4 separate regions of the Homo sapiens genome follow, and all the other regions are linked to region 1. Evidence: promoter capture Hi-C in 16 types of primary human blood cells and fetal thymus (Javierre and others, 2016). All regions are on one chromosome and are shown on one strand. Each heading gives the region's core, a stretch centred on a gene start or on the middle of the fragment in contact. The rest is flanking DNA. Distances are from core to core; before and after follow the strand shown. Region 1 holds the start of PIGV (phosphatidylinositol glycan anchor biosynthesis class V). Region 2 overlaps RPS6KA1 (ribosomal protein S6 kinase A1). Region 3 holds the start of LOC124904769 (U7 small nuclear RNA). Region 4 has its middle 59 kb from the start of ARID1A.

Evidence for each region. Contacts are between HindIII fragments. The CHiCAGO score rates a contact against its expected background, and 5 or more counts as called.
Region 2: a fragment that was not itself captured here is called in contact with the fragment with the promoter of PIGV in region 1 in 12 of 17 cell types (neutrophils, erythroblasts, M1 macrophages and 9 more); the score reaches 8.2 in neutrophils.
Region 3: a contact is called between a fragment that was not itself captured here and the fragment with the promoter of PIGV in region 1, in 17 of 17 cell types (megakaryocytes, activated CD4 T cells, naive CD8 T cells and 14 more). The highest score is 167.7, in megakaryocytes.
Region 4: a contact is called between a fragment that was not itself captured here and the fragment with the promoter of PIGV in region 1, in 2 of 17 cell types (neutrophils and total CD8 T cells). The highest score is 6.3, in neutrophils.

Annotation. Positions count from the first base shown.
Region 1 is chr1:26,784,824-26,789,982 of GRCh38, forward strand. PIGV (phosphatidylinositol glycan anchor biosynthesis class V) reads left to right here and starts at 3,127. Exons shown (of 4, transcript NM_017837.4): 1 at 3,127-3,445. RefSeq lists enhancers at 1,897-2,046, 2,567-3,006, 3,053-3,879, 3,567-3,766, 4,574-4,703 and a silencer at 3,057-3,266. The HindIII fragment of the contact is 3,281 bases long and covers 1,139-4,419 here.
Region 2 is chr1:26,554,879-26,560,037 of GRCh38, forward strand. RPS6KA1 (ribosomal protein S6 kinase A1) reads left to right here. Exons shown (of 22, transcript NM_002953.4): 10 at 273-343; 11 at 659-747; 12 at 1,776-1,840; 13 at 2,120-2,222; 14 at 3,929-4,059. Among named protein-coding and RNA genes, the nearest start is that of MIR1976, 2.9 kb to the left of the region's middle. The HindIII fragment of the contact is 3,642 bases long and covers 1,230-4,871 here.
Region 3 is chr1:26,600,209-26,605,367 of GRCh38, forward strand. LOC124904769 (U7 small nuclear RNA) reads right to left here and starts at 2,224; the gene lies at 2,161-2,224. The HindIII fragment of the contact is 1,382 bases long and covers 2,278-3,659 here.
Region 4 is chr1:26,634,573-26,639,731 of GRCh38, forward strand. No RefSeq gene overlaps it. Among named protein-coding and RNA genes, the nearest start is that of ARID1A, 59 kb to the right of the region's middle. The HindIII fragment of the contact is 3,775 bases long and covers 1,026-4,800 here.

The sequences.
Region 1 (5,159 bases), core at 1,877-4,376:
GGGGCCAAGGCCACTTCCAGAAGTGGAGGCAGGAGCAAGGCAAGGCAGCTACAGAGAGAAATGTCAGTTGCTCCAGGGAAGTGAGTGTTCTGTGAGAACCACCTAACTTCCTTCTCTACACTTTCAGTGGGAAAATCACTTTTTTGTTCAGTGAGTTGTAATAGCCCATCTTTATTGAGCATTGTATGCCAAGCACTATAAATCCTATGAGGTAGATATCATCTCCACCAGGGCAAGGATTGTTTCTATCTTGCTCAGTGTTGCATCTTCATCCCATCACATAGTAGGCATTCCTGTACTGTTGAACAAATCAAACAGATAAGATAGGAATTTGATGGAGGAAAGAGTAGGTCAGAGCTGTTAAGACTTGGTGTGCCCATCTTAGCATAGCCCGTAAAGACTCTTACATATGGGAAAAATGGAAGAGAGGGAAAGAGGTAAATCTGTGAAAGATTAAAATAGTGTAGAGTGGGAGAACCAGCCTGGGAGGCTGGAGACCTGAATTCAAGTCCCATCGCTACCACTAGCTATGTGACTTCTTGCCAGTCACTTACCCTTTGTGATCCTTAGCTCCCTCATCCATAAAATATAGGTATAGGATTAAAGAAATTGATTTATTGACCAGATCTTTATTGAAGACACACAGTGTGCAAGGCACTGTTCTAACTGGAAATACATTGGTGAACAAAGCCCTTGCTCCTCCATTACACTCAGAAGCTTACATTCTAGAATAGGGAAACAGACATTGAAACAAGTAAAATTCATGGACAGGACAAGCAGATAGTGTTAAGTGCTATGAAGAAAACAGAGGCCGGGCGCAGTGGCTCACACCTGTAATCCCAGCATTTTGGGAGGCCAAGGTGGGTGGATCCTTTGAGCCTAGGAGTTCCAGACTAGCCTTGGCAATATAGTGAGACCTCATCTTTAAAAAAAAAAAAAAAAAAAAAAAAAAACAGAACAGACTGATGGGATAGTACAGGGAAAGCCTCTCTAAGGAGGTGACTTCTCTCCGGAGACCCAAACATAATGGGCTAGCCAAAGGGTGGTCTGGAAGTAGAGTGCTTCAAGCAGGGAAAATAGCAAGAGCAGAGCCAGGCAAGTTCAAAGAACAGAAATGATGTAACCCTCTTAAATCCTAAGCTTCTAGAATAGTAATGCATTGCTTGCATTGTTCTGGTTAGGGATTTGTATGTGATATTGTTTCTTGGTGATGTGGGATATGTGCTTCTTAATGGAAATGGCTGGGAAGTGTGGAGTCTTTCTGGAGCCTGGGATATGGCTCTTTCTCACTTGCTTTCCACAGTTCTGGTAGCTCAGCTGGCTCCCTGGGTAGATGCAGGCTCCATCTTAGCTGCAGACTCTACAAGAACACTGAGAGGCTGCCTCCGTCACTACTCAAAGCCTTGGAGTCCCAGAATCCCCTCCTATCCCACCTAGCCTTCTTCCAATCTGAAACCAGGGAGTCAGGGCTTTGAGAGCACAAGATTCAGCTTCCTTGTTTTCCTGTCAGAGCAGAAGTCAGAAAATGAAACAGGAAACAGAGCGGAAGAGGAGGGGGTTGGGTAGCAGAGAAGGAAAAGAGAAATTGCAGGAAAGTACAGCTGAAAATCTGGATAAAGTTCTACCTCTACAGGGTGACAGCTGAGCTTTTAAAAAACATTCTGACTTGTCTTGAGAGACCCCTGGCCTTTTTACAAATAGATTTTTGAGAGAATTTGATGTGGACAGAGGGAACCCTGAGAATGCATGTCTTTTTTCCCCTTGTGAATTTACAGAGCAAGGACAGTTCATTTCTCAGTTTTGTCTTTGCAGAGAGAGTGCTGCTTGGAGCCTCATGGTGGACTTCTAGAGATTCAAGTCACAGCCTTAGGCCCCAGTCACAAGTGTGTCCCCAGGCTTTGCCACGTTACTCACAGGCCTCTGGAGCTGAGAACAAGTGCGTGGCACTGAAAAACCTGGGGGAAGGGCCATGAAACTCCATTTTTTCCCCCTTCTCCAACACACAACGACTAAATATGATTTGCCTTTTCTCCACCTTGCACACAACAGATATCTGAAGGCAATTTAGGTCTCAGGGCCTGAAATGAGTTACAGAGTCAAGAGATACAGTCCCAGGCCCCCACAGACTGATGTGGGCTGGTCTTCGCCTGGAGAGGTAGCAACCATCTCTTTGTTCCCACCCACATGAGTAGCCGTTGCAGAAGATAAACCCCTCCCTGAGCCAGGCTGTGGCCAGAGGCTAACCCGGCCCCTGGCTTCGTTTGGAGGGCAGATAACTGAAACCACATAAGGCTTTGGAATCCTGAGAAACAAGAAATCCACCAACGGAGAAGGATTTATCATCTGTTTCCTTTAAGGAGGGTGCAAAGTTGTTCTAACAGTTTCCGTTACAAGGGTACAAACTGGCCGCTCCCCCCAATAGACGGTTTTGTTGAGTTCGCCTCTTTTTTTTTCTTCTTTTTTTGGCCCCACTTCCTATGAGAGAAACTGCTTGGGTGAGGGAGGTGAAAGGAGCCCTGGAGGGTGTTCTCTGAGGTTTTCTTCACCATCCTCATTAGCCACCTGAGGTGGGGCTGAGGACTAAAGTAGGACAGAAGGTCTCTGGTAGATAGAGGAGGGGAAAATCAGGGGGATCCCCCACTTTCTTCACACCCAGGACGCAGGGTGCCGCTGCCGGCCACAGAAACCCCAAGAATGTTTTTCTTTGGCTATTCAGAGGACATCTATTGTGTGTCAGGCCCTGTGCTGAGCTGTTGTTGCCTGACAGCAGGAAGAGCGCGGCTCTGGTTTCTGTGAAGAGGCTGCGGGTCAGCCTCCGACTACAAGAGCCTCGGCCCACACCGGGAACTCAGTGAACGTCAGCGGGAGCTGGGGCAAGAGCACTGACTCTGAGACAGCAGCCTCCGCTCACTATTTGAAGGCGGGGTGGCGGGGGGCCTTGAAGGAGAGCGAAGTGCGAGAGAACTCTTCAGGTGTCACCAAGGTGGGAAGGTGCTACGAGGCGAGGCGCCGAGCGGCGACCCCCATCCCGCTCGCCCGGAGTCAACATGGCCGCCGCGCAGGGAGGCGGGGCTGCTCCAAGTCCGGGCAGGAGCGGGGCGGGGACGCCGTCGGCGGAGCCAGCGCGCAGGCGCGGGCCGCGTGGGCCCCGGATGGAGGAGCTGAGGTTCGGTCCCCGCCGGGGAGGTCGGGACGGGCAGGGGCTGAGGACCCCGCGCCAGCTTGGGAGCCCTGGAGTTCTGGCGGGAGGGAAGCTGTCAAATGGAAGCCGGTAGAAATGAGACAGACGCCCGGAGAAGCGGGGAGCCCCGCCCCTCCGCCATAGCAGCCTCGGGCGCCGCCTCTTCCTTTCCAGCCTCCCGCCCTCGTCTGCTTCCGGCCCTGTGGCCTGGTGGGGCTCTGCAGGCTCCCTCGGGAGTGGTCCTTGGGCCGTGGCCCCTCTGGGGTGAGCGTGGATGATTAGTACCCAGAAGGGACTGTGTCCAAAAGGAGCCGGCCAGAAACGGGTTGCGGACACGGCTGGGCTGACAGAAGGCAGCCCCCACGAGGCCTTTGGCTCTGAGGACCCTGGGTCAGAGCGACTTCTCCAGCCTGCGCAGGGGGTGTTAGTCTTACCCAGAGGGTCCAGAGCTGCCGTTCAACAGGATGTCCCAGATTCTCAGATAGGGCCCAACTACCCTAAGCATACCTAGCAAGGGCAGGCTGCGGCATGGAAGTACTGGGCTAGGCGTTTGGGTGACCTGGGTCATAATCCTGGCTCGGAAAGGGCGCGTACCCTTTGGCGAGGGATGCGGGCTGGTACCGTGAGGTTTAAGAAGCAGAAAACATGACAGCCTCTTTAAGTAGCCCTGGGTACGTCACTTGACCCCAGTGAGCCTCAGTTTCCATATCCATAAAATGGCGATGGTAATTATACTAGCCTCACAGTGTCTGATGAGATCTCTGGAGCCTATTTATCTCACGGGAAAATTTTTGAAGAGTGAAACTAGTTGATCTGTAAGTGTCCTGCCAGTTAAGAGTCTGTGATTTGGCAAAGGGGTTGTTGGGAAGTGAGGTGGGCAATTAGCTGAGAGGGAGAATTGACTAGCTTTGTTTTTACTTGGTTTACCTGTAAGCAAAGTGTGGGCTACACACATCTGTAGTCGCTGAGGCTAGAGCTTGACTCGAGAGAGGAAAGGAAGAATGCAAGCATGGTCAAGTGGCAGAGGTGGGTTAGGTGCTTTTCTGATCCCAGCTTCTCTTCTGCATGCGCGTGGGAAGCCAAGGAAGAGGAAAAAAGAGTGAATTCGCCCTAGGATAGGGAAGGAGTAGCCGCGTGAGGTTGAGTATGCCCATTTCCGTGATTTCTCTCGATTCAGCGAGTCATACGTTGGAAACGTTTAGATTCACAAACTATCGTTACTGTCTGGGGCTTTCAGAAGCTTGCCTTTGAACCGAATTTTCGTGAGCCAACCGGTGTGGAATTGGGGGCCCCTCCCTTCCTCCAGGCCTCCTGGCGATGGAGTAAGCAGCAGGCGCCCCCTTGTGCCAAGGAAAGAGTACTGTTGCCATTGGCCAACTTGGCTCCCTTTCTGGGGAAATTTTATTTTCCTGTGGCTTCTGTGACTTTGTCGTCTTGCTCTTGACATGAGATATGATGGGAAGAATACTTGGGGCACTGATTTCATATCTAGAGTCAGTGAACTGCTGATGCTGTATCCTGTCCCTACCACTTCCATTCATTCAGAACACAGGTTTAAGATGCCTATTTGTGTTCTAGGCCCTGGGATATAGTTGTGATGTAAAGCCCCTGCCCTTAGCAACTTAAATAAGCAATAGCAATAACGGCAATAGGGCAGAATGTAATGAGGGCATAGCACACTGTCTAGTGAGGATCAGAGAATTCCAGAAACAAGTGATACAGGTTTTTTAGGTATTCGCCAGATAAGAGAAGAAAAAGAGTCTTCCAGCCGTCCTCCTTAAATTTCTCAGTTCAAATTTTTTTTTTCCTTTTAGGCATAGTTCTTCATCCCAAATTGATGAGCTGCCTCTGATGCTTTTGCTTTCCTTTCAAATTTCCCAGGCTGGTGTTTGAAAGTTCTTGAGGAGCCTTTATGACTCCTTTTAGCTCAAGGAATTATAAAAGATGCCTTAAGGTGCATTCCCTGCCTCGGAGTGGC
Region 2 (5,159 bases), core at 1,801-4,300, 230 kb before region 1:
TGCAGTTTTCTTCCTTGGAAGGATCCCAGGCTTGACCCCACCTGGGACGCGCCTAACCCAGTGCTGGCCTTCTCCCCAGCCTCGCGCCCCCACCGCTGCTCCTGGTGGTCTGGTTGGCAGAGGCAAGAGGGACGGGCATAATTCTTGCTCCAGGCTGACTTGGATGTATCAGCAAGAATCCTGGGACTGGGGCAGAGGGGTCTGACTGGGAGGAGGCGGGAGGTGTGTCGGAGACAGGGATCAGAGCCTGAATAGATCCTTGTCCTCTGCAGTTTGAGATGCTGACGGGCTCCCTGCCCTTCCAGGGGAAGGACCGGAAGGAGACCATGACACTGATTCTGAAGTAAGCCCCAGCCCTGCCCTGATAACAATGGACTCCTCCAAGCCCCAGCCCCAGTTTGGGGGTCAGAATATTATTACCCTGTCCCTGCCTCAGCTACCCTCTCTAATGAGACTCTCCTCTGGGTTAAACATTATACCTTCCAGAGCCCCTCTTTCATCCCTGGGGGCCTGTGGGTAGGATCCCTGAAGCCTTTGGGAAGTGAATTAGTGGATGGCTTGTCTAGACTGAGCTGGGAACTAGATCTGGACAGGGGCCGGGGGAGATGGGGCCTCTGGGGCAGGGCTCAGCCTTGATGAGTCCCGGGGGCTGTTTCAGGGCGAAGCTAGGCATGCCCCAGTTTCTGAGCACTGAAGCCCAGAGCCTCTTGCGGGCCCTGTTCAAGCGGAATCCTGCCAACCGGCTCGGTAAGCAGCCCCAGCTCAGGGGAGGGGATGTGGCGATGGGGAGCCGGGTACAGCTGCAGCCTAGGCCACAGGGCCACATCTGGGCTGAAAGGGGCCGTTGTCCTTTGTGTGGGCAGACAATGCCGCGGGCCACCCTGCTTTCTGGCTCCATGTGTGGTGTTGTGGAGGGGGGAGTTGACCTGTGTGTAGGGGGAAGGCAGGAACTGAGTCATCCCTACTCCCTCTGGGGACAAGGACAGAGGCCCCCACACAGCTTCTCCGCCAAGGCTGCTGGCACAAGAGAAATAGCATGAGCTCAGGAGTCAGAAGGCATAGGTCCCAATCCCGGCTCTGTGTCAGGTCCCCACTGCCTGGCACAAAACAGTCCCTCTATAAATATTTGTTAAACGAATGAGGCCACTTATGAACTAAGTGACCCCAGGCAGGTGACTTCACCTCTCTGCACCGCAGGTTCCTCGTCTCAATGGGAGATGATGATCCCAAGCTTGCTTCAGGGCTCTGTTGATGAAATGAGGTTGTGTGAACATGCCGGCATGTAGTAGGTGTCCAGTGTGTGCTGGCTTCCCTGGCTCCTGGGTTCATCTGGTCCATGACCAGCTGTGTAAGGTCCAGTCAAGGCCCCTGGGGTCGAATGGAGTAACAGCCTGTCCTATGGTTGAAAAGGTCAATGGGATAAGAGGAACAGAGATGAGGCTTGCCTTGGAATGAGGTGGGGCTCTCTGTAGGTCTCAGAACAAGCTCAGCTTCTGTTCTAACTGTGTGGCCTTGGAGAAGTTGCCTAAAGTCTCTGGGCCTTCCTCCTCCCACTGGTACATTGGAATTTCTTCATCAGAAGCTCCAGAAAGTGGAAAATGCTGAGTAGGTGACAGGCCTTAGGGTGATGGCTGGGTAGATTTGAGGCTGAGTGAGCCCATTTTCCCCTCTGCTCCAGCAGCTGGTCCCAGAGCCCTGTGAGGCTGCTTGGTGGGCAGGGTAATATCTGGGACTTGTGCCAGCCAGGGACAGACCCTTCATTTGGGCTCTTTCAGGCTCCGGCCCTGATGGGGCAGAGGAAATCAAGCGGCATGTCTTCTACTCCACCATTGACTGGAATGTGAGTGTGTCCACCCACACCAGGGCTCTGGCCAGGGCTCAGCCATCTTGGCCACAGGAAGGGTGGTGGGAGGGGAGCCTCTGCCAGCGAGGGCCCCAGACGCAGGAGCAGAGGGTCACAGCCTGCCCTTGAAGACAAGGGCTGGCCTCCTGAGGGCAAGCAATTCCGAGAGCTGGGCAATATGGCCTATGTTCCAAGCCCAGCACCTCCTCCTGCATGGGGCTCCTGGTGGGCTGTTGAGGATGCCATGGTGACCAGAGTGCCCACCCCACTGTGCAGAAGCTATACCGTCGTGAGATCAAGCCACCCTTCAAGCCAGCAGTGGCTCAGCCTGATGACACCTTCTACTTTGACACCGAGTTCACGTCCCGCACACCCAAGGGTGCGTCCCTTATCTGTTTTGTCTGTCTTGGGCTGGTACAGGAGGGAAGCCGGGAGTCGGTGGCAGCTTGGGGGGCAGAGATAGTCAGGGACACTGACAGGCCGAGGTATGCGGGTGGGCAGGCGGGTGAGTTTCTGGCTCCGTGGGACTGACTTTGTCCCTGTCTCACTCCGCCCGACTCTCTCACTATGGGGCTCTGTGGGTCTCTTTGTGTCTGGTGAGAGAGTGGGAGTGGGGATGTGTGGGTGGTGAAGGCCACAGTAGAAAAGCCAGGACCCCTGCCCGGGGCACCTTCCAGCCCACTGGGAAGACCAAACACATCAGGCTTACCATCACGTCAGGGAGAAAGAATCTGACCCAGCCACACTGTGTGGTGGCTGAGCAGAGGTGACAGTGCCCATAGGTCAGGGACAGGCATGGGAATCAGCTTTGGCTGCCCTGACTGCCCGGCCTCCGTGTACTTATCTGGAACAAGGGCACAGCCACAAACCCACTCATTCCCTGGGGTTGCTACAAGAAGCCAGTGAGGGAGCTTCTGGGAAGGAACCTGGTGAATCCTAACTTTTTGGCCAGATATTGACAGTGGGTGTGGGGTGGAATGTTCTGGGAAACCTCCTATAAGGGCATGTTTTAGGAGAGGGTGTGCTTTTCTTCTCTCCTCTCCTCCCCTCCCCTCTCCTCCCCTCCCCTCCCCTCCCCTCCCCTCCCCTTCCCTCTCCTTCCCTTCCCTCTCCTCTCCTCTTTTCAAGATGGAGTCTCGCTCTGTTGCCCAGGCTGGAATGCAATGGCGTGATCTCAGCTTACTGCAACCTCCACCTCCTGGGTTCAAGAGATTCTCCTGCCTCAGCCTCCCGAGTAGCTGGGATTACAGGCATGTGTCAGCACGCCTGGCTAATTTTTGTATTTTTAGTAGAGACGGGGTTTCACCATGTTGGCCAGGCTGGTCTCGAACTCCTGACCTCAGGTGATCCACAAGGGGGTGCTTTTCTCACTGCACTTGCACGCCTCTGATGACAGAGACAGCACTTCTCCAAGCAGTCCGCTGGGCAACGTGACAAGTGCAGCTTCGTAGGAGTCAGGGGCCGGAGGAGCAGCATCAGGCAAGGCTTCTCAGAGGAGGGAGCGTGCGAGTTGAGTCTTGAAGGATAGGCAAGGAGTGGATTATCTAGTTAAAGGGAACAGTGTGTGCAAGGGCTCAGAGACCCCTCTAAGGATCTGAGAAGTCCAACATGGCTCAGCTGTGGTATGGAGAGAGAGGAGGTGAGGATCACAGGGCCCTCAATTGCCAGACTCAGGAGCTGGACTTACTCCTGAAGGCAGACGGGAACCTTTGAAAGGTGTGGGCAGGGTGGCAGATTTGTGGTTGGAACCTTCCCTCTGGCTGCTGTGCAGAGATGGACCTGAAGGGGCTGACGTAAGATGGGGAAGCTGGGGAGGAAGCATCCAGGAAGGGATGAACTGTCTTGGCCTGGGATGGAGGTGGATGTGAGAGTCTTTTTTGTTCCTCATGCGACAGGACTGGGCTGGTCTAATAAACACATATGAGCAGTTGGGCCAAGGCCTGTGATGGACAGGCCCTCTGCAGGCTCCCGCCACGGCCAGCCCCTGAGGCAGGTCTGGAGGCCCTGTGCTCCCCCTTTGCTGGGCTGCCTCAGGGTCGAGGGGACCTCCTCAGGTACCCTCACATTCTCCTTCCATCCGTACAGATTCCCCAGGCATCCCCCCCAGCGCTGGGGCCCATCAGCTGTTCCGGGGCTTCAGCTTCGTGGCCACCGGCCTGATGGAAGACGACGGCAAGCCTCGTGCCCCGCAGGCACCCCTGCACTCGGTGGTACAGGTGAGGGGGGCAGGGGGCTGCTGCTCCATTATCCTTTTCTAAAGAATGGCTGAGTACACAGGCTCTGAGTTGGACAGAACCAGGTTCATACCCTCATGCCACTGTGGGACCAGTAGGGCCTCCAACATAAAACAGGGACAGTAAGGCCCACCTCACACAGTGGCCCTGATAATTGGATGATGATATGGGTGTACATTTCCCAGCACAGAGCCAGGGTCTGGGTACATGTCAGGAGGTGCCCAGGGTGGTGGTGCCGAGTGACTGTCGTGTCTCCGGCATAAGTGTAGCGAAGGACTTGGATCTCATCACACTTGTTCCCCATTTGTACACTTCTACTGCTAATGAAAGTTTCAGGTTGAGAGGCAAGAATGTAGACTGTGGAGCTCATTGCATGGGTTCCAGATTCACAAGATAATGGACTTTGGGGTTTTTTGTTTGTTTGTTTTTGAGACGTAGTCTTGCTCTGTTGCCCAGGCTGGAGTGCAGTGGCACAATCTCAGCTCACTACAGCCTCCACCTCCCAGGTTCAAAAAATTCTCCTGCCTCAGTCTCCCGAATAGCTGGGACTACAGATATACACCACCACACCCAGCTAATTTTTTTTTTTTTTTTTTGTATTTTTAGTAGAGACGGGGTTTTACCATGTTGGCTAGGCTGGTGTCAAACTCCTGACCTCAAGTGATCCGCCCACCTCAGCCTCCCAAGGTGCTGAGATTACAGACATGAGCACCTGACCAGATAATGGACTTTGGATGAGATACTCCCTTCCTCGTGCCTCAGTTTCCTCATCTGTAAATGGGGGAAATGATAGAAGCTTCCTCCATAGAGCTGTTATGAGGATTATTAGAGTTAATACATGTAAAGTTCATGTGGGCTGGGCACGGTGGCTCATGCCTGTAATCCCAGCACTTTGGGAGGCCAAGAAGGGTGGATTGCTTGAGGCCAGGAATTTAAACAGACCCATCTGGCCAACATGGCGAAACCCCGTCTCTAAAAATACAAAAATCAGCTGGGCGTGTTGGCGCGTGCCTATAGTCCCAGCTACTTGGGAGGCAGAGGTTGCAGTGAGCTGAGAACGTACCACTGCACTCCAGCCTGGG
Region 3 (5,159 bases), core at 1,719-4,218, 180 kb before region 1:
CATGGCTGTAATCCCAGCACTTTAATTCGAGACCAGCCTGGCCAACATGGTGAAACCCCATCTCTACTAAAAATACAAAAATTAGCTGGGCATGGTGGCAGGCACCTGTAATCTCAGCTACTCAGGAGGCTGAGGCAGGAGAATCACTTGAACCGGGGAGGCAGAGGATTGCGCCATTGCACATTGCACTCCAGCCTGGGTGACAAGAGCGAGACTCAAAAAAAAAAAAGAAAGAAAGAAAGTGAGAGCCATTGAAGGATTCTGAGCTGGGGAATGGCTTGACCAATTTTGCATTGGAAAATGATTACTCTGACTGGCAGTGGTGTGAACAATGCCCTGGAGAAAGGAAGACCAGATAGGAGACAATTAGAGTGGTAGACAATGAAAAGCCCAGGGGACGCACTCATATGACTTAGATTACTGAGTGGAGAATATGCCTTTTAATAGGATTATAAATCTTATTATTATTTTGCCAAGAGTGAGGGAAAATTAAAGTTTCATATTTTCCCTATTAATCCCAAGGAAGAAACCAGGGATATGGATAAGATTAGGGAGAAACAGCCGGGCACAGTGGCTAACGCCTGTAATCCCAGCACTGTGGGAGACAGAAGTGGGTGGATTACCTGAGGTTAGGAGTTCGAGGCCAGCCTAGCCAACATGTCAAAACCCCGTCTCTACTAAAAATACAAAAAAATCAGCCGGGCGTGGTGGCACGTGCCTGTAATCCCAGCTACTCAGGAGACTGAGACAGGAGAATCACTTGAACCTGGGGGGCAGAGGTTGCAGTGACCCGAGATCGTGCCACTGCACTGCAGCCTGGACTCTGTCTCAAACAAAACAAAACAAACAAACAAACAAAAAAGATTGGGGAAAACCTGTAGACAAAATAAAATATTAATAATAAATCAGGGCTGGGAGCAGTGGCTCACGCCTATAATCCTAGCACTTTGGGAGGCCAAGGCAGGCGGATCACCTGAGGTCAGGAGTTCAAGACCAGCCTGGCCAACATGGTGAAAACTCATCTCTACTAAAAATACAAAAATTAGCCGGGTATGGTGGTGCGTGCCTGTAATCCCAGCTACTCGGGAGGCTGAGGCAGGAGAATCGCTTGAACCCGGGAGGCAGAGGTTGCAGTGAGTCAAGATTGCATCATTGCACTCCAGCCTGGGCAACAGAGCAAGTCTCAAAAAAATAATAATAATAATTTAAAAATTAAAAAAAATCAGCCCAGGCACAGTGGTTCATACCTGTAATCCCAGCACTTTGGGAGACCGAGGCAGAAGGATCACTTGAGCCCCGGAGATCGAGACCAGCCTGGGCAACATAGGGAGACACTATCTCTACAAAAAATACAAAAATTAGCTGAGCATAGTGGTGTAGTCCCAGCTATTTGGGAGGCTGAGGTGGGAGGATCACTTGAGTCTGGGAGGTCAAGGCTGCAGTGAACCATGATCACACCACTGCACTCCAGCTTGGACAACAGAGTGGACTCTGTCTCAACAAAATTTTTTAAATAAAAACAAAAATTAGCTGGTTGGGGTGGCGCACATCTGTGGTCCCAGCTACTTGGGAGGTTGAGGTGGGAGGATCAATTGAGCCCAGGAGTTAGAGGCTGCAGTGAGCCATAATCATGCCACTGTACTCCAACTTGGGCAACAGAGCAAACCCTGTCTCAAAAAAATTAAATAAATAGAAAGTGAGGCCGGGCTTGGTGGCTCATGCCTATAATCCCAGCACTTTGGGAGGCCGAGGCGGGTGGATCACCCGAGGTCATGAGTTCAAGACCAGCCTGGCCAACATAGTGAAATCCCGTCTCTACTAAAACAATAGCTATTATTAATAAATAATAATAATACGAAAATGAGTCTGGCATGGTGGCACATGCCTGTAATCCCAGCTACTCTGGAGGCTGAGGCAGGAGAATCGCTGGAACCCAGGAGGTGGGGGTTGCAGTGAGCCAAGATCACGCCACTGCACTCCAGCCGGGGCAACAGAGCGACACTCCATCTCAAAAAAAAAAAAAAAAAAAGAAAAGAAAGAAAGAAAGAAAGTGAGATCCTTTAAAAAAATTTTTAAAGGAAGATTTTTGTTTTTCCCGTGGGAAGTTTTTCCAGAGAAGAGAACCATCTTCAGTGTTACAGCTCTTTTAGAACTTGTCTAAGAGACAAATTTCAGTGAACACTGGAAAACCTGATAGATAAATTCTAAAAGAGGTGTAACACTGAAAATTTTAACTATACCAATAACCGTAATCAACTGATGGACATCTGGGAGCAAAGCTTTCCAACATTTTGCCTCTTCTTTCTGGTTCTCTGCTGTTGTTTCTCTTTTGAACAGCAGATGGCAGGATAATCCCACAACAGGTGGTCATGATTTAATTTAATTGCAATGAGAAGAAAATTGCTTCTTTTCCCACATGTATTTCTTTCCCGAGATAAACAGTACATAGGGAATCTGCCTCTTTATTGGAAGTAAGATATGTAAGAAGGTAGCTTTTTATCAAGGAACAGCAAGGTAACTAACATAAATTCTGAGCCTTAGATTATTACACTGTGCAAAACCAAGTTTCTGAGAAAGGAGCAAATGGAGGTTGAAAGCCAACTGTTAAAATTCCACATATTCTAGGTTTCCTCAGTTAATAATCATAAAAAGTTTATAGCCAGAAAGTCACAGAGGCCCTTCTGTTGCAATTGTTAGGGTTTAGAGTCAGTGGGAACACCCTTCTCACCCAGGGGATTTTAAAAGCCAATCCCACCTCCTCCCCACAGTCCTCTCCTCTAACGCTCATTTCCCATCGCCTCACAAAATTGCCAGGGTAATTGACTCTTAGATGAGATGAGTTTGACTTTCTACCCTGATTTTGTAACAGAAGTTCTTTTGGTGAGGTTCTTTGTTTGAAAATGCACAATAAAAATGGCTTTAGAATGACTTCAGAGGACTCTTTCTTTTTCTGGTGCCAATAACAGATTCCAAAGCAGCTATTATTCGAGGTGGGTGATAGCATCCCTTGAGTCTGTTTAAGTATCGGTTTTCAAAGTGCCTAGGAACCTGAAATGTCCTGTATGGTATATTTGCAGGTGCATAATTGGCCAAGTGCTCCAGGGGTTATAAAGATTGCCTTCCTGTAGTTGGAATAGACAGATTTAGCCTCTTACTGAAACTGAAGGCTGCAATGTCGATAACAAATCTGATTCTAACTCTCCTGTGTCACTTCAGCCCAAAGGTGCCTTTGTCTCCCAGGAGAAAGAGGTTAGAGGTAAGTGAATGGCCCTTAACCAGAGCCATGTAGAAAACATTGCTAAGGAAGACTTCTGTCCTGAGAGTGGAGGTTTAGGGCTGTTGTGTGTGAAGTAAATTTGCTTTGTTCACAGCCAATCTGACTGAATGCAAGTATTGCTGAGGTGACTGGAGCTGAGCAGCAGCAAACTGCTTTAAAAGCAGCTTTCAGTGGGAAACTTTAAGCATACAATGACTTTATTTTTGTTAAACATAATTCTCCAACCTTGCTTTTTTATTGCACTAACCAAAATAAATCTGGATAAACTTAAAAGGCTGCCTTGATGTCAGTAGGAAAATGGATATTGTCTCTCCCAAAAGTGTTTGAATGGTAGTACATAATCCAGCTACATCCAGATAAGAATACACCTCCGCCTGTAGAAAGCTTTCCTGGAACGGAATATCACCAAGAGTATTCACTTTGGGGCTTGATGGTTCCAGCCCGTCTTACTAAAACTTCTAAAGAAATAGTTTGCCTGCTCTTTCACTCCTCCATTTGTAGTTAATACTTATGTGTACTTAGTGGTGTTCTGAACTCGTTTTATTTCTCAAGGCCTCTGGCATTTGATGATACCTGTGTAGCAGGAGCTTTCATCATACCAAACACAGGGTGGTGTTTAGTGGAGAAGGGGCCAGGAGAGGAAAAAAGCCTAGGCTTTTTCCTAAGTTACTTAACTTGGGAAACCAATGGGCTCCTTTTAAGATTAAATGTGTCTTTAAAATACCAGGATCTTCAGTTATGAAGATATGGGCAAAACTGCTTCCCCCAGACAAACCTGAGGTGGGGGATGTAGGTGTCACATTCAAATCAAAAAGGTGCCTCTCGACAGGAAAGATTTAATCAGCTCTCCTTCCCAGGATCGGCTGCCAGGTTTGAACATTTACTTGTCTGAGTTCCAGGCAGGAGACACTGCTAATTATGGGAGCAATTCCCATGGCTACAGAAAAGAACTGTCTGAGCTGGGGAGTCAAAGCTCTGATCAAGAGGGGACTGAGAGGAAAAAAGCCCCCAGCATTCTCAGAGGAAATTCTGGAGTTGACAAGATACATGCCTTCTCTGCAGGAATGCCCCCTATGTCTGGCATTTGAAGATCTAGAAACATCCTTCCCTTCACCTTCCTAACTTACGTGTTAAGAATCCCTTTGTTTGACAAATAGAATTTTCAAAGCAGTTTCTTTCGTTCAAACACTACGTGATTAAGTTTGTTTTGGAAAAAAACACAGAATGAGGACTTTACTAAGAGTGATTCTCACAAATGATGGTACCTGAAAAGAGGCAAACTTGGCCATCAGGGCAGCCAAAATGGCACAAGCATTTGGAACTTGTTGCCTTATCCTTGGCAAAAACACCACTGGATCCTTTCCGCTCTACGTAAAGTAAGCTGTGGCAAAGTTTACTTTTCTTGTGGCACAAAATCTAGACTCACAGTGAGCTTCTTCACCATTAGCTTCAATTTATATTCTGCCTCTCTTCTTTGTCCATTATTCAGGGCACCTGCTCTCTGTCCCTCCCCCACTCCTCCAGCTGTCTGTCTGTCTCATTTGTGTCAATTAGGAATTCAATACTGCTTGATTTAACTGAATGACTTTCCCTGTACAGAATCTCAACTACAGACAGGGCATCAACCATCACTCCCATTCCCCAGAATAAAAAATTCTGAAAAGCCAAAGGCATGCAAGGATACCTAAGAAAGGAGCAAGAGGTCCTTGCTAGCTATGGCAGTGAGCCTGAGAAAGATGGCAAGACCGCATTTCCTGACACCCAGTTATGTATTTGGTGGCCTACCAAGAGTCAGCATTGCATCCAAGATCATTTGAGTCTACTCTATTTAGTAAAGGTTTTCAAAGAGGATCATAAGACTTAGAAATCAAGAACCAACTGG
Region 4 (5,159 bases), core at 1,663-4,162, 150 kb before region 1:
GACTGGAGAGAGAAAAATTATGTGTAGTTTTTTTTTGTTTTTTGTTTTTTGTATTTTTTGAGACAGAGTCTCACTCTGTCGCCCAGGCTGGAGTCCAGTGGCACAATCTCAGCTTACTGCAATCTCTGCCTCCTGGGTTCAAGCGATTCTCCTGCCTCAGTCTCCCAAGTAGCTGGGATTACAGGCGCCTGTCACTACGCCCAGCTAATTTTTTGTATTTTTAGTAGAGGCGAGGTTTCACCATGTTGGCTAGGCTTGTCTCGAACTCTTAACCTTGTGATTCGCCCGCCTCAGCCTCCCAAAGTGCTGGTATTACAGGTGTGAGCCACTGCGCCCAGCCGAAAAATTATTATTATTATTATTATTATTATTATTATTATTTTGAGACAGAGTCTCACTCTTTCGCCCAGGCCAGACTGCAGTGGCGCTATCTCGGCTCACTGCAGACTCTGCCTCCCTGGTTCATGCCATTCTCCTGCCTCAGCCTCCCGAGTAGCTGGGACTACAGGCCCCTGCCACCGTGCCCGGCTAATTTTTTGTATTTGTAGTAGAGACGGGGTTTCACCGTGTTACCCAGGATGGTCTCGATCTCCTGACCTTGTGATCCGCCCGCCTTGGCCTCCCAAAGTGCTGGGATTACAGGCGTGAGCCACCGCGCCCGGCCCAAAAAATTATGTTTTAAGAAATATGCTACACCTGTTATTAGAGTCTAGTCTCATCAGTTGTTTTTGAGGGTTTTTTTTCTGCAATTTATACCAACCCTGGTTATTCCTGCCAATCAACCAGTGATCTCTGACTGCAGCTCAGAAGAAACAAGAGGGATGGATAGTGTAAAAATCTGGATCAGTATTCTAATTCTGGGCACGTACTGGAATCAGCTAGTGATTCCATATTAGCTTGATTCCAGCAATTGCTCAGTTAATGGAAAGCCTTCTTATTTAGTTTACTTGGGATAATTTTTCTTATTTTGCTTTACTGTTGTGGAATATATTGCTGTTGTACCCTTTGTGTAGGAATGCAGGATAAGCTTACTCAATGTTTTCTTTTTTCTTTTTTTCCTCCAACCTCTCCTCCCCCTCAATGTTTTCTTAAATTTAATCCTTGTTAATCTTCCAGATATCCCCTTTTGTCGAAATTCATAGTTATGAATGGTCCTTACTATACTGATGCTTCCTGACTGAGCTCCTCTCTACCCTGAATACAAGAGACCCTAGTAGTTAGGCAGGAATATCATTGTCCCTGTTTAGCCTGAAGAAGTTACGGAAGATGGATTTTTGTCCCTCTAAAACCCTTAGGATTAAGAGTCCCCTTGTAAAAGGGAGGGGAGAAATATGTCAGAGGCATTTGAACCAGAGTGACTTTATCTTGAATAGGGGCTGGGTAAAATAAGGCTGAGACCTACTAGGCTGCATTCCCAGGAGGCTAGGCATTCTTAGTCATAGGATGAGATAGGAGGTCGGCACAAGATACAGGTCACAAAGAGCTTGCTGATAAAATAAGATGTAAAGAGACCAGCCAAGCCCCACAAAAACCAAGATGGTGGCCAGGCGTAGTGGCTCATGCCTGTAATCCTAGCACTTTGGGAGGCTGAAGCAGGTGGACTGCTTGAGCCCAGGAGTTTGAGACCAGCCTGGGCAACATAGCAAAACCCCATCTCTACAAGAAGTTTATATATATATTATATATATTATATATATATAAAACATATAATATATATAACATATATAATATATTATATATAAAATATAAAATATATAAAAATATATATAATATATAAAAATATATATAAAATATATAATATATATAATATTATATATTATATATATTAGCCAAGTGTAGTGGCAACCGCCTACAATTCCAGCTACTCAAAAGGCTGAGGTGAGAGGATCACCTGAGGTTGAGGCTGCAGTGAACTGTGTTTGTGCCACTGCACTCCAGCCTGGGCAACAGAGTGAGACACTGTCTCAAACAAAAATCCCCCAGAAACCAAGATGGCAATGAAAGTGACTTCTGGTTGTTCTCACTGCTCATTATATGCTAATCATAATGCATTAGCATGCTAAAAGACATTCCCACCAGTGCATGACAGTTTATAAATGACATGGCAACATTCGGAAGTTACCCTATATGGTCTAAAAAGGGGAGGGGCCCTCAGTTCCTGGGAAATCTCTACCCCTTTCCTGAAAAACTCATGAATAATCCACCCCTTGTTTAGCACATAATCAAGAAATAACCATAAGTATACTCAGTCGAGCAGTCCATGCTGCTTCTCTGCCGATGTAGTAGCCATTCTTTTACTCCTTTACTTTCTTTCTTTCTTTTTTTTTTTAAGACGGAGTCTCCTTGTCTCCCAGGCTAGAATGCAGTGACGATCTCGGCTCACTGCAAGCTCCGCCTCCTGGGTTCACGCCATTCTCCTGCCTCAGCCTTCCGAGTAGCTGGAACTACAGGCACCCGCCACCATGCCCAGCTAATTTTTTCTATTTTTAGTAGAGACGAGGTTTCACCATGTTAGCCAGGATGGTGGCGATCTCGTGATCCTCCCGCCTCGGCTTCCCAAAGTGCTGGGATTACAGGCGTGAGCCACCGCGCCCGGCCTCCTTTACTTTCTTATTAAACCTACTTTCACTTCACTCTATGGACTCACCTCAAATTCTTTCTTTCGAGAGTTCCAAAAACCCTCTCTTGGGGTCTGGATCGGGACCCCTTTCCGGTAACAGTTTGGATAAGTACTGATTGATAGATGTAAGAAGTCAAGGGAGGTTTTACTTCTTTCATTTTATTTTATTATTATTATTATTATTATTATTATTATTATTTTGAGACGAAGTCTCACTCTGTTGCGCAGGCTGGAATGCAATGGTGTGATCTTGGCTCGCTGCAACCTTCGCCTCCGGGGTTCAAGCAATTCTCCTGCCTCAGCCTCCCGAGTAGCTGGGATTACAGGCATGCGCCACCATGCCCAGCTAATTTTTGTATTTTTAGTAGAGATGGGGTCTCACCACGTTGGCCAGGCCGGTCTTGATCTCCCTACTTCAGGTGATCTGCCCACCTCAGCCTTCCAAAGTGCTGGGATGACAGGCATGAGCCACCACACCCGGCCTATCATTGTTACTATTATTATTATTTTGGGGTTGGGGGAGGCTTTACTTCTAAAGAGAAAGGTCAATGTTTTTGATTTTCCTCCTTCTGCCATGTGGCTTTTCTAGAAATAGTCTTTGAGTTTCTTTTATTAGTTAATCTTTTTCTTCCTCCTATAACCCCTTTTTTTTTTTTTTTTTTTTGAGACGGAGTCTCGCTCTGTTGCCCAGGCTGGAGTGCAGTGGTGCAATCTCAGCTCACCGCAACCTCCACCTCCCAGGTTCAAGTGATTCTCCTGCCTCAGCCTTTCAAGTACCTGGGATTACAGGCGCCTGCCACCACGCCTGGCTAATTTTTTTGTATTTTTAGTAGAGACGAGGTTTCACTCTGTTAGCCAGGATGGTCTTGATCTCCTGACCTCGTGGTCCGCCCACCTCGGCCTCCCAAAGTGCTGGGATTACAAGCGTGAGCCAGATGGCACCGGGCCTGTTTAGCTTATTGTACTTAGTGAATACTTTTTTTTTTTTTTGAGATGGAGTCTCGCTCTGTCGCTCAGGCTGGAGTGCAGTGGTACGATCTTGGCTCACTGCAACCTCTGCCTCCCAGGTTCAAGTGATTCTCCTGCTTCAGCCTCCTGAGTAGCTGGGATTACAGGTGCACACCATTATGCCTGGCTAATTTTCGTATTTTTAGTAGAGGCGGGGTTTTACCATGTTGGTCAGGTTGGTCTTGAACTCGTGATATCGCGATCCGCCCACCTCGGCCTCCCAAAGTGCTGGGATTACAAGCGTGAGCCACCATGCCTGGCCTATACTTAGTAAATACTTTCTAAGTGGCAAGTTGCAATTCAAATGTCACTTTTTACATGAATCTTTTTTTTTTTTTTTTTTTTTTTGAGACGGAGTCTTGCTCTGTCGCCCAGGCTGGAGTGCCGTCGTGGCGCCATCTCAGCTCACTGAAACCTTGGCCTCCCAGGTTCACGTGATTCTCCTGCTTCAGCCTCTTGAGTAGCTGGGATTATAGGCACCCACCACCGTGCTCAGCTAGTTTTTTTTTTTTTTTTTTTTTTTTTTTTTTTAGTAGAGACAGAGTTTCACCATGTTGGCCAGGCTGACCTCAAGTGACTTGCCTACCTCGGCCTCCCAAAGTGCTAGGATTATAGGCATGAGCCACCGTGCCCGGAATGAATCCTTTCATGACTCCCAGAGGCAGAATTCAACGTATCTACCACTGAATTCACATAGCTCAGAGTTACATTACAAAGTGCTATAAAAATAATGGTTTCTGATCAGGCATGATGGCTCACACCTGAAATCCCAGCACTCTGGGAGGCCAAGGTGGGAGAATCTCCTGAGCCCAGGAGTTTGAGACCAGCTTGGGCAATCTTGTCTCTACAAAAGAAAAAAAAATTTAATTAAAAAATTAGCTGAGCTTAGTGGCGTGCACCTGCTGGGGTGCCTACTGGGGTGCCTACTCCCCACCTACTGGGGAGGCTGAGGTGGGAGGATTGCTTGAGCCCGGGAGGTTGAGGCTGCAGTGAGCCAAGATCATGCTACTATACTCTAGCCTGTGTGACAGAGTGACATTCTGTCTCAAAGAAAAAAAAATAAGTTTCTTTAATAATGTGGTGTAATATTTTGATTGCAAGCAACAGAAAAATCATCTCCAACTATCTTAAACAATTAAGAGAATTTAGTCATCAGCTGAAAATTCAGGCAAAGCTTTGTCCTCAGTGTTAAGGCTCGATGATGTTACCAAAGACCTGGTTTCTTTCCATTTCTCCTTCTGAAATATTTGATATTCCTGTGTGTGTGTGTGTGTGTGTGTGTGTGTGTGTGTGTGTGTTTTGGAGACAGAGTCTCGCTCTGTCGCCCAGGCTGGAGTGCAATGGCGCAATCTTAGCTCACTGCAACCTCTGCCTTTGGTGTTCAAGCGATTCTCCTGCCTTAGCCTCCTGAGTAGCTGGGATTACATGTGCCCACCACTGCGGCCAGCTAATTTTTGTATTTTTAGTAGAGACGGGGTTTCACCATCTTGGCCAGGCTGGTCTTGGACTCCTGACCTCGTGATCCACCCGC